Regions from separate parts of the Homo sapiens genome. Here regions 1, 2 and 4 are each linked to region 3. Evidence: promoter capture Hi-C in 16 types of primary human blood cells and fetal thymus (Javierre and others, 2016). All regions are on one chromosome and are shown on one strand. Each heading gives the region's core, a stretch centred on a gene start or on the middle of the fragment in contact. The rest is flanking DNA. Distances are from core to core; before and after follow the strand shown. Region 1 overlaps PFKP (phosphofructokinase, platelet). Region 2 overlaps PFKP (phosphofructokinase, platelet). Region 3 holds the start of LARP4B (La ribonucleoprotein 4B). Region 4 overlaps PITRM1 (pitrilysin metallopeptidase 1).

Region 1 (2,700 bases), core at 49-2,548, 2.2 Mb after region 3:
TTATATATTATTAAACATTATTATACATTATTAACTGTAGTCGCTCCATAGTATCACTCATCCCTGGATTTTATTCCTTCTATCTCAAACTGTTTTTTACCCATTAACCATCCTTCTTTACACCCCTGCTTCCTTCTACTTTTCCCAGCCTCTGGTAACCATCATTCTGTTCTCTGTCTCCACGAGATCAATCCTAACTCTGTCTTCATGAGATCAATTTTTTATTTAAGCTTAAATGTATGAGTAAGAGATTGCAGTATTTGTCTTTCTGTGCCTGGCTTATTTCACCTAATTTCTGCCTGTTCCATCCATGTTGCTCAGAATGACAGGATTCATTCTTTTTTATTGGCTGAATAATATTCCATTGTGTATCAAGATGTGGAATCAGTCTAAGTGGCCATCAGTGGGTGCGTGGATAAAATGTGGCGTATATACGCAATGGAATATTTTTAAGCCATTAGAAAACCTGCTTTTTAAAATCCCAAGTCTTCTGAGTCCTGGCCTGCCTCTCAGACCTGGGTTTTGGGTGAGCCATCGTGGGCCTGCAGGACGTACTGCAGTGACTGTGGATGCATAAATCAACCTTTCATTTCTGTGTGCTCATCTGTGCAGTAGAAATGGTGTTTGCCCTCCTGTCTCCCTGGTAGAAAGGACTTGGAAAAGTCTGAGACTAACGGGGCAGAGGAGCTGTTTGACTGCTTTTCAGGGATGAGACGCGCATGCCTTTGACTCCATGGGTGTGTGGCCAGGTAGGGAAACGGGGTCTGCACCTGAACACATCTATTCACAGATGGCTCTGCACTGAAGAGGCTCAGCCCCCTCCCCGGCCTGGTCTCTGCGTCATACCCACAGGCTGGGCTTCTCTCTGAGTGTCAGGGCGATGGCATCTGGGGTGGGCAATTCTTGGTGGGCGGTCCTTTGACTCTCAGGATGCGGAGCAGCACCCCTGTGTCCACCTACCCCATAGTCATGACAGTCAAAGATGTCCTTACAGTATCTCCAACATCGGCGAACGTCCTATGGGGGGAAAATCACTCTTTTGGGGGACCGCTGTTCTAGACCTATTTGGGCTCAAATTGAGGGGATATTATGTTTTATTTTTTTAAGGATGACTCAGTAATTTATCCAACAGATTTTTTTCACCTATACTCTAGTTTCTAACCTAGAGCTCTCTGGGTTACCAACAGACCAGGACAGTTAAACAGGTTACTATTAATTAAAGGGGTTTGTTTTTTCCTTCAGTAGTGCATGTGTGAAGAAAGTATTAACCTGGGAACAGTGGCGTTTCTGCTGAAAGCCTGGCCTTCATCGAGGGACCTCTGCTGTCTGGCCGCTGCTTGAGCTCCTATAAACCTGGGCCAAGCCTACGTGTGAAGCATGCCAAGCCTTGGGCTGCATTCCAGGGAGACTCGGGGAGGGTTTGCCAGTTAACCCATTCCTTTCTACCTGGTGAACCAATTGTTGCTTCTTTCTTTTTTCTCTTAAGCTAAGGTTTTTCCTTAGAAGCCTACAAATGGCTTTAGCTTCTTGGAGATGATGATACTAAGTATATCAGATGCTTTGACCCAAAGGCCATGCCCAGGGTAAACTACCCTGGCTCTGGTGGGTCCAAACCAAGCTGGGGCGAGTCAGTTGGTTAATCCAGGGCTGCCACTGTGTCTGCAGGAAACAGTCGGCTCCTTGCATTTGGTTTCATTCATGAATTTCATATCCTGTTGTTGAATATTCTTCTGCAGATTTCAGAAATTGTTCATATTATTATAGCTCTTCAAATATGACTCACTTAAGATTCTTGCCGAGCACCGTGGCTCATACTTGTAGTCCCAGTACTTTGGGAGGCTGAGGCGGATGGATCCTTTGAGGTCAGGAGTTAAAGACCAGCGCGGCCAACATGACGAAACTCCGTCTCTACTAAGAACACAACAGGTAGCTGGGCGTGGTGTAATCCTTGGAAGGCTGAGGCTTGAACTCAGGAGGTGGAGGTTGCAGTGAACCTAGATTGCGCCACTGCATTCCAGCCTGGGTGACAGAGCGAGACTGTGTCAAAAAAGAAAAAGAAAAAAGTCTTTTATCTTAATTTTTTGTTTGTTTTAAAGTTTGGTTCTGCTCTAGACAGCTGTTTGTAAACAATATCAGAGCTGTCTTTGTCATAGTCCACACCCTAAAGAAAGGCTAGGAATAATTCTGATCATTTTATCGCTAGTTTTTTCCATGATTAAAAATAACACATTCAAAAGGTGTCAGATAAGTGATGCCTTTTTATGTTGAAAGGATAAAGGGTGTTGGTACAGCATCAGCATCCAGCCTCTGGTCTTCCCAGATGTGCTGCCATGGAGCCTGTGCCACCTGACCCCCGCCACCGGCCCCCAAGCTTAGCTCAGGTGCCCGAGGGTCTCCATCTCCCCATGGCCCCCGGTCAGCAGCCCTGTCCCTGCACCCAGACTGGCCAACCCTTCTGAGCTTGAAATATCAGCATGTGATCTTAGCTTCCCTTGTTTCAGCCCTGAGCATTACAGCTTGACTTACTATACCAATAAACAAACCATTAACTTATCAATGAATTGATTGGCATCATGCTTCCCTTCTTTAGTTGGTCTCGTGGAGGTAGAGAGGAGGATGTAGATAGCAGAGGCTGGGAAGGGGGTGTGGACAGGAGGGGATGCAGAGAGGTGGATGGGTGCAAACATATGCTTAGATAGG
Region 2 (2,794 bases), core at 291-2,790, 2.1 Mb after region 3:
GTCTACAAAAAAAAAGAAAGAAAAAAAATTAAGATACTGCATGTATTGGAAAATATTTATGGGTCATTCCTTTGAGCTCCATGTCCAAAAGCTTGCTAAAATGCGCGGGAGTTTGTGTACAGGCATGTGAGATTAGGATACATTGGCAGAATCGCGGTGTTCTCTGTTACCCTGGTTTTGCCACCTGGGAGGAGTTAGACATATTGAAGGTTAGTAAGTCCACGCCTCTTCTTTTCTGGGGAAAATGATACTTTGGAAACCAATATTATGTGGGGAACGCGGCTTGGTTGCTGCAACCTCGGGTTAATAGGAGACAGCTGCCCTCAGCTCTGCAGGTGGCATCAAATATGGTGGCCTCGAGCCCACATGGGTCACACCTGGGCTGTCCCTGGGGAAGCCCGCCATGGCGGGTCGCCTGGGCACTCTTTCCCTGGCAGAGCTGAAGTCACAATTTTTTTGTAGACTCTGTAAAGAGCTTTACCCTTCGGTGATACGATCTTGAACCTGTTGGAGCATTTGGACGCATTTCTTTTAAGGAAGTTCACCTCCAGATGTACTCAGAGGGCCTGGTCTTAGCTGCCACAGATTTACAAACCCTTACAGTAAGTAGGTTATTCCTCGAGAATATCTCAGTGTCCCCATTCTTTTACCATTTTATTCTGATTCTATGTTAGTACTTGATTTTCCCTGACATAGAAGACTATTGCTTGTAGCTAGAGATGAGAGAACATATTCACATTCACGTATTAATTTCAGGGGAATTTTCTGTCAGATGTGAAATTATGGTAAAATTCCGTATATTAAGATGATCATAGCTACCATTTGTTGAAAACATTTTGTATTCTAAGAGCTTTACACTTCTTATCTCCAAGCCTAAATACATGATCCCAAGAGAGGCGTGTCCTCATTTTGGAAGTGGGGAGAAAGACTCAGAAAGAAAAGTAAGTTAGGTAAGGGCATGAGGTGCATACGTGATTGTGATAGGAGCAAAACAGATCTTAATTCCAAATATTGTACTCTCCCGTAGACCACGAAGAGTACTTATGTCTGGCTGTGTCACCCAGGCCAGAGTGTAGTGGTGCCATCATAGCTCACTGCAGCCTCAAACTCCTGGGCTCAAGTGATCCTCCTGCCTCAACCTTCTGAGTAGCTGGGAAGACAGGAATGCACCATCATGACCAGCTAATTATTATTATTATTATTATTATTATTTTTGTAGAGACAGGATCTCACTATGCTGCCGAGACTGGCCTTGAACTCCTGGCCTCCTGTAGTGATCCTCCTGCCTTGGCCTCCCAAAGAGCTGGGACTACAGACATGAGCCATTGTGTCAGGCCTCCACCATCTCCACCATGTTTTTCAGGGACCTTTCTTGGTGAAGCTGCTTTATCTAGTTAATGCTCAAAAGTGAGCAAAACCCGATTTGCCCAAAATTACACAGATATTCTTTGGGTGGCTTTGTTAGGGGAACGGAAAATGCCTTTTTATAGTGATAGGAGTCCAGGTGGCAAGAACGATATTATGTGATGGGCTGCTTTTTCTTCTCTCAGTAGAGTGTATATTATTTAATTATAAGATACAATTGAAAATCTCTTTCTCTTTTCTATATTCCCGACTCCCCGGGCCTTGAATGAAGAAAGTATTTCTCAGGCTGTTTTTGTTTGTTTGTTTGTTTGTTTTTTCTACTTGCTTGGATATCTTCTGTCTCAGGCTGTTTTTTTTTTTTTTTTTTTTTTCTTTCTCTTCTTCTGCCTCTTTATGTATCTTCTGTTGTCCCAAGACATGTCTGGAAACTTAAATTGATTTTCACTCAATCTGAAATAAGCTCCATAACTCTGAATGGCGGACTTACCATGACTAAGTCCCCACTGCCACAGAACACTGTGCCACACACCAAGAGTGACTCATTGTCTTAGTCACAGGTTGTGGCTTCTGAAGGTCCTGGTGCCTGGTGGAGCTGAGTGTACTGGGAAGTCCAGGTGCATCCTTAGGGTAGGCTGCATGTGAAAGCTGCGTCCTTTTTGCCTGTGGTGAGGTGAATATCAATACAGTATTTATAGAAAGTCCACATAAATTGAGTAAGTACAAACCTTTCCAATCCTAGTGAGAATAACTAGCATTAATGACTCTTTGTTATGTGGCAGGGCCTCAGTGATCCTGGGCAATGACTTATCCCTATTTTACACATGAGCAAGGGGCGCCTGAGTTGCACCACCTTCCCTGAGTTCACAGAGCTCCGTGGTGGGGCCGGGCCCTGTGGCTGCAGCAGGGATGTTCAGGGCTGCGCGTACCTGCGTCTTCACTGGTGTCTTTCCCGCGCCCAGCACCATGCCTGGCGCTTCGCAGGAATGCAAGTGTTTGCTGCCTGCCTCCTGCCTGGAATCTCCACTGAGGAGCAGGAAACCAGGGGTTCTAGCTGTCTTCTTCGTCCATGAAGTCCTTTAGAGGAATTCAACCCTCTCTAATTAAAAGTATCCAATATCCTCAGGTCAATATGTGTAAACTGTTAAGACTTCAAGATTAGAACCTTAAAACCGAAGTCAGAAGTGTGAGGTTTCCATTGGCTGGACGTGCATTAGGTCAATGACACACATATTTATTGGACACCAGGCTTGAGCCCCACATGGGCACCTTTGGTGTCTGAAGCAATGCTGGCTTCGGAGCCCAGTAGGGTGGAAGGGGAAACTGAGAACAGCGCCATTTTGCCTCCCACGGCTCTGGGCCCGTTACCTTCCTGTGTACATACATTATTTGATGGGATCTTTTCAGTGTAAAGTGCAGTAATTAATTTTGC
Region 3 (2,700 bases), core at 180-2,679:
GAGTTGCTCTCATCTCTAGAAAAAGGCCTCACGCATACTGTTTATACTTACAAACTCCACTGCCCTGTCAAGGAAAACCTTCCTGTTTTCTCAGTTATCCAAAACTTCAAACTTCCAATTTACTATTAAGACAAGTTATTGGGCATCCACTTAGAGAATCTCAAACGAAAGCCAGATAGGAGGTAGTTTTCTACAGCTAGGTTTCTCAAGTTTCATCTCAGCCAAGTTTTAAGAACGTTTTACGTAAAAATAAGGGGAAAAGCAAAATTACATTCGCATGAAGTTTCGACGCACAACGGCACTGAAACGGAAAGACTCTTCACGTTCCCAAGCGCACCCTGAGAGGCAGGTGCAGCAGCTTTCCGATGGCTTCTCTGCCGCCCATGTATCCCAGCCCCAAGACCAACACAGGCAATCTTCACATCTGACTTTATTTTTTTAACTCCTTCAGATCCACCTCTGCTCAAGTCTATCAACAGGAAAACAGGAGCGTTCCAAACACACACCGAGCAACAGGATCCCAACTTCCTGGTTCTAAAGGAATGCGATGCCCTGATGACCCGTCCCGCCCCGCACCCGCACGGCCGCCTATCCGGGCTCCGGCGGGACCGAGGAGCGAGTGGCAAGGCTGGCGCCGCACTGCGGGTGCCGGCGCCCGCCCGGCCTGGGGGCGCTCGCGGCCCGCGACCCCGGCCCCGCCCAGGCCCTGCCCGACCCCCGTCCTCGCCGGCCTTCGCCCAACCCCGGCCTCCCGACCCTGACCCCGGCCCGGTCTTCCGGGCACCCAGCTCCGTCGACTCCCGCCTCGCCTCAACGGGTCCTCCTAAGCCCCGGCCCCGGCCTTCCCCTGCCCCGGCCTCGGCCATCCTCAGCCCCAGTTTTCCCCTGCCCCGGCCCCGGTCCTCCTCAGCCCCGGCTTTTTCCTGGCCCTGACCCCGGTCCTCCTCAGCCCTGGCCCTTCCCGTGCCCTAGCCCCGGTCCTCCTCAACCCGGCCCCGGCCTTCCCCTGCCCCGGCCCCGGCCCCGGCCCAGGCCCGGCCCTGCCCGCCGCGGCCGCGTCCTCCGGGAAGATGGCGGCGCAGTGACAGGCGGCGCGGCGCGGGTCCGAGCTGGGCCGGGAGGGACGGCCCGCCGCGGCCCAGGGTGCCTCACCTGTCAGCGCCGCCGCCCCGCCCGACCGGCCGCCCGCGGGCTCCTCGCCTCAACCCCGGGGCCCGGCGGCCGCGCCACACGCGGGGACGGCGAGGAGAGAGACGGCAGGGAGAGGCGGCGCGGCCGGGCCGGGCCGGGCCGGAGGTAGGGGAGAGGGCGGGCGCGAGCTGGCGGCGGCGGCGGCGGCGGATTCTTCCCCTTTCGGGCCCGAAAATGTCTCAACCCCGGGACTCCAGATCCCCAACGCTCCTTCCCGTTCGCATGAGAACACACAGCTCCCACTTCCGGGGCCCTGCGGAAGTCCCGCCCCCGCGCGGACCCGCGCCTCGCGCCCTGAACTCGCGCACTCACCCGCCGGTCCCGCGGACTGGCGCTCAGCCCCGGGAGAGCCTCACGTCATGGTGTTGCGGCGCGCTGATTGGGCGCACCCGACGCTCGGCCCGCCCCGCCGCCTTCTTGGCCTCTCCGCGCGTACACCCTGCTCGCGGCCTTGCGATTGGCGCGTGCGCGCACATCGCCCCGCCCCGCGCACGCCGCACGTCCGCCCCGCCCGCCCCGCCCGCCCCGCCCGCCGTCCCCGGCGCGACCGGAGCGCCTGACGCTGGGGGGCCGTGTGGGCCCTGACTTCCGGAGGGCTGGGCCCTGGTCCTCCGCCACCGCGTGCGCCCCTTAAAGACCCCTGCCCGCCGCCCAGGACGGATGGCGACCCCGGCCCTAGCCTGTCCCCAGACCCTGGACCAAGGCCCCGGCCCTGCCCCGAACCCCTCATCCCACCCCCAGGACCCAGGCCCCGACCCTGGCCACCCAGGACACGCCCTGGCCCTTCCCCGAACTCCCACCCCACAGCTGGGATCAAGGTCCCGGCCCTGCCCGGAACACCTCACCCCACACCCGGGACCCAGGCCCCGGCCCTGCCCCGAACTCCCACCCCACACCCGGGACCAAGGCCCCGGCCCTGCCCCGAACCCCTCACCCCACCCCCGGGACCAAGGCCCCGGCCCTGCCCAGAACTCCCACCCCACACCCGGGACCAAGGCCCCGGCCCTGCCCAGAACTCCCACCCCACACCCGGGACCAAGGCCCCGGCCCTGCCCCGAAGGCCCCACCGGGGACCCAGGCCCCGGCCCTGCCCCAAACTCCCACCCCACACCCGGGACCAAGGCCCCGGCCCTGCCCCGAACGCCCCACCCGGGACCCAGGCCCCGGCCCTGCCCCAAACTCCCACCCCACACCCGGGACCAAGGCCCCGGCACTGCCCCGAACGCCCCACCAGGGACCCAGGCCCCAGCCCTGTCCCGAACTCCCGCCCCACACCTGAGACGAAGGTCCCGGCCCCGAAGTCCCAACCCCACACCCGGGACCAAGGCCCCGGCACTGCCCCGAACCCCCGCCCCACACCCCTAACCAAGGCCTCGGCTCAGCCCCGGAATCCCCAACCCCACACCTGGGATCAAGGCCCCGGCCCTTCCCCAAACCCCCAACCCACACCCGGGACCAAAAGGCCCCGGCCCCACGTTTCCTAGAGGCGCTGGGTTCGGGCCCACGTTG
Region 4 (2,700 bases), core at 147-2,646, 2.2 Mb after region 3:
AGCTGTCACCCCAACTTGAGTTCAAGAAGACTCCTTGGAAGAAAAGACCACCAAATTGAGAATGAAAAGGTAAGAAATAGTTCACCAGCCGAGAGGAGCTACGGGAATCAGAGAGCAGGCCACCCATGAGCCTCAGGGACACCAGGACAGACAGGTTGTCCAAGTCACAAAGGGACATGAAGACATGGGCCCAGGACAGCAGCTCTTAATCCAAAATGGTCTCAAGAATCCTTTACACTCTGAAAAATTAACCCATTTATGCCTGAGGTTGCAATTTTTTTGTAAAAAATCAGACCTTGGCGATGACCTTGAGCTGTAGGACATAAATAACTCCCACAAGCTTAGGGTGCCAATAATGGAACACTAGGCATAAATGCGTTTTAATGAGGACCCAAACAGCTTTTGATTATGTGGGCGTTTTTGCCTGTGTAGGTGCCTGTGTGTGTTTATATAATTTTTCTATATTCTAAATTAAAGCTGAGACATTTAAAAAATACTTATTCATTAAGGTAAGCCATCATTACATGTTGATATAAATATTTTTGAAAAATACTTCTCATAACAAAGTAAAAAACTGATTAGAGTGGTGCTGTGTTGCCTTTTTTGCAAATCTCTGTAGCGTCTGGCTCAGAGGTGAAGCTGGACTCCCCCATTTGCTCTGTATGCAGCTCGCTGTGTGTCACACACCTTGCCATGCAGCCTCTAGAAAGTACACCGTGTACTTGGGCAAGAATGAATGAAAAGACACTGTCTTGGTAGTGGTATGAAAATAGCTTTTATCTCACAGACTTGCTGCAGATCACATACCAGGGGTCCCCAGACATGGTCTGAGACCTGCTGGGAAGAACAGCAGCCTGGCCCTGCTACCCCGACTTCTGCTCACAGCACTGACCCCAGCTAATTCAAGAATGTATCACCTATAATGAGAATATTAAATAAAATCTTCCAGATGTGTCTATATCATGATATTGTACATGGGAAAGGTAAGCTGAACACAACATAAAAAAGGAAGAAAACTTACAAACGCTCCCTTCATCTCATTAAAGACGACTCCTTTAAAGACCAAGGGCGTCTGGGGGTCGCTCGGATTCTCATGTTCCAGCCGCCATCCTTCCTGCCTGAGGACAAATCATTATAAGCTGATAGTGACTCAAATACTAAAGTCTGTATCAACTAGTTAATCATTCATGACATACCAGAAATCCAGCTCGCGTAAACATGGGAAAAAGGTGGCATCCAAATACACCGAGAGGAGATTCTGAAAGTCCTTGGGATTTTGTGTGGAAAATGGATACAGAGTATAATCACTAGCTGGGTACAAATGAAAAGTGAAATTGTAAAATATAACAGATTTCTACTAAAATTATTGACTCTCAAGACTCATTCCCCCTTTGTCCTAGGACAGTAAGCTGTAGCTATTCTTGGGATGGGGCAGTGGCCCCATGCTCTGGTCCCTGGCCTCAGCAGCTGTCCCAGCTCATAACCCCAAGTGCCGGCTTTCCCATCCCGTCTCAGGATCTGCACTCGACGGGCACCAGGGCTTTCTTCAGCGAATATCTAAACTCTCTCAAGTTTCTCCAGAGACTTTCATACATCTACAAAGATGACCTCATTCTGTAACAGCATGGATTTAACCCGCTCTTCAATGTCACTCCCCCACAGAATGCACTGTTCATCGTCACCCTATCCACTATCGTCAGTCTTACTAAAAGTCAAACATCAACATTAGTAGTAACTCTGGCATTGTAGCGATATCTCCAAGAGAAAATTGTTTTGAACTTTTCTGGGAAAAGTTCACATATGTTTTCTTAAAACGCTAGTTTTTACAATCTCGCTACCATGTGGCTTTCCTGAAGGATTAAATTTCTAATGTCCTTCAACTAGAGAGAGGTAAAAATTTTTCTAGAACATGAATTGCCCACTCCCCTCATTCCTTCTCAGAAACTAACTGAATTCCAGTGGGTGTGCCTGGCAAACCCAAAAGCAGTTTCTGTTCAGGATGCTGGTCTTACCTGTGAAGGCGTTCATGAACGTGGAGAGGGACCGGTTCAACATTTTGAAGAAAGGGTCTCTGCACGGATATTTCTGAGACCCACAAAGGACGGTATGCTCAAGAATGTGAGGAACACCAGTACTGTCCATGGGAGTAGTACGGAACTGCACGCTAGGGAAGGAGAATGACCAGAACGCAAAAGGTTCAGCTTAGTGCTGCGGACACAGTTCCCAGATGCATCATCACCTCAGGCTACTAGAAATCATCATTCTGACACCACAATCCTCCAGCACAGGGTTTTCCAACTATAATGTAAATCATTGACTCAGACTGTAAAATTGTATTTTGATGAGATTATAAGTCAGTGTAAACTTTTCCTTATTTTTCAAGATGCTCTGTCAATAAAAATACTAGTGAGATGATATTTTAAACCACGTAATGTATAGCCATGTTTTAAATCAAGCTTGTCCAACCCGCAGCCTGCAGCCCGCATGCTCAGGATGGCTTGAAATGCAGCCCAACACAAATTCATACACTTTCTTAAAACATTGAGGGGTCCTTTATTTATTATTTTTAGCTCATCAGCTGTCCTTAGTGTTAGTGTATTTTATGCGTGGCCTAAGACAGTTGTTCTTCTTCCATTGTGGCACAGGGAAGCCAAAAGAATGGACATTCCTGATTTAAATAAAAACATTCAAGACCATGTT

The links. The method cuts DNA at HindIII sites, captures the fragments that hold promoters and counts their contacts. A CHiCAGO score of 5 or more calls a contact.
Region 1: a contact is called between a fragment that was not itself captured here and the fragment with the promoter of LARP4B in region 3, in 1 of 17 cell types (endothelial precursors). The highest score is 5.0, in endothelial precursors.
Region 2: a contact is called between a fragment that was not itself captured here and the fragment with the promoter of LARP4B in region 3, in 3 of 17 cell types (erythroblasts, M2 macrophages and total B cells). The highest score is 9.0, in erythroblasts.
Region 4: a fragment that was not itself captured here is called in contact with the fragment with the promoter of LARP4B in region 3 in 4 of 17 cell types (M0 macrophages, M1 macrophages, fetal thymus and 1 more); the score reaches 8.5 in M0 macrophages.

Annotation. Positions count from the first base shown.
Region 1 is chr10:3,089,740-3,092,439 of GRCh38, forward strand. The region is part of intron 2 of PFKP (phosphofructokinase, platelet); the gene reads left to right. Among named protein-coding and RNA genes, the nearest start is that of PFKP, 24 kb to the left of the region's middle. RefSeq lists enhancers at 932-2,131, 1,612-1,811, 2,666-2,700. The HindIII fragment of the contact is 2,141 bases long and covers 229-2,369 here.
Region 2 is chr10:3,069,714-3,072,507 of GRCh38, forward strand. All of the region lies in intron 1 of PFKP (phosphofructokinase, platelet), which reads left to right. Among named protein-coding and RNA genes, the nearest start is that of PFKP, 3.6 kb to the left of the region's middle. The HindIII fragment of the contact is 2,902 bases long and covers 90-2,794 here.
Region 3 is chr10:930,276-932,975 of GRCh38, forward strand. It overlaps LARP4B (La ribonucleoprotein 4B), which reads right to left and starts at 1,430. Exons shown (of 18, transcript NM_015155.3): 1 at 1,153-1,430. It overlaps LOC124902363 (keratinocyte proline-rich protein-like), which reads left to right and starts at 1,716. Exons shown (of 2, transcript XM_047426111.1): 1 at 1,716-2,700. The coding sequence starts at 1,852. The coding sequence ends at 2,556. RefSeq lists silencers at 621-750, 841-920, 951-1,060, 1,131-1,840, 1,921-2,010. The HindIII fragment of the contact is 3,248 bases long and covers 1-2,700 here.
Region 4 is chr10:3,164,217-3,166,916 of GRCh38, forward strand. PITRM1 (pitrilysin metallopeptidase 1) reads right to left here. Exons shown (of 27, transcript NM_014889.4): 4 at 2,013-2,164; 5 at 1,197-1,311; 6 at 1,022-1,118. Among named protein-coding and RNA genes, the nearest start is that of PITRM1, 7.2 kb to the right of the region's middle. The HindIII fragment of the contact is 2,116 bases long and covers 339-2,454 here.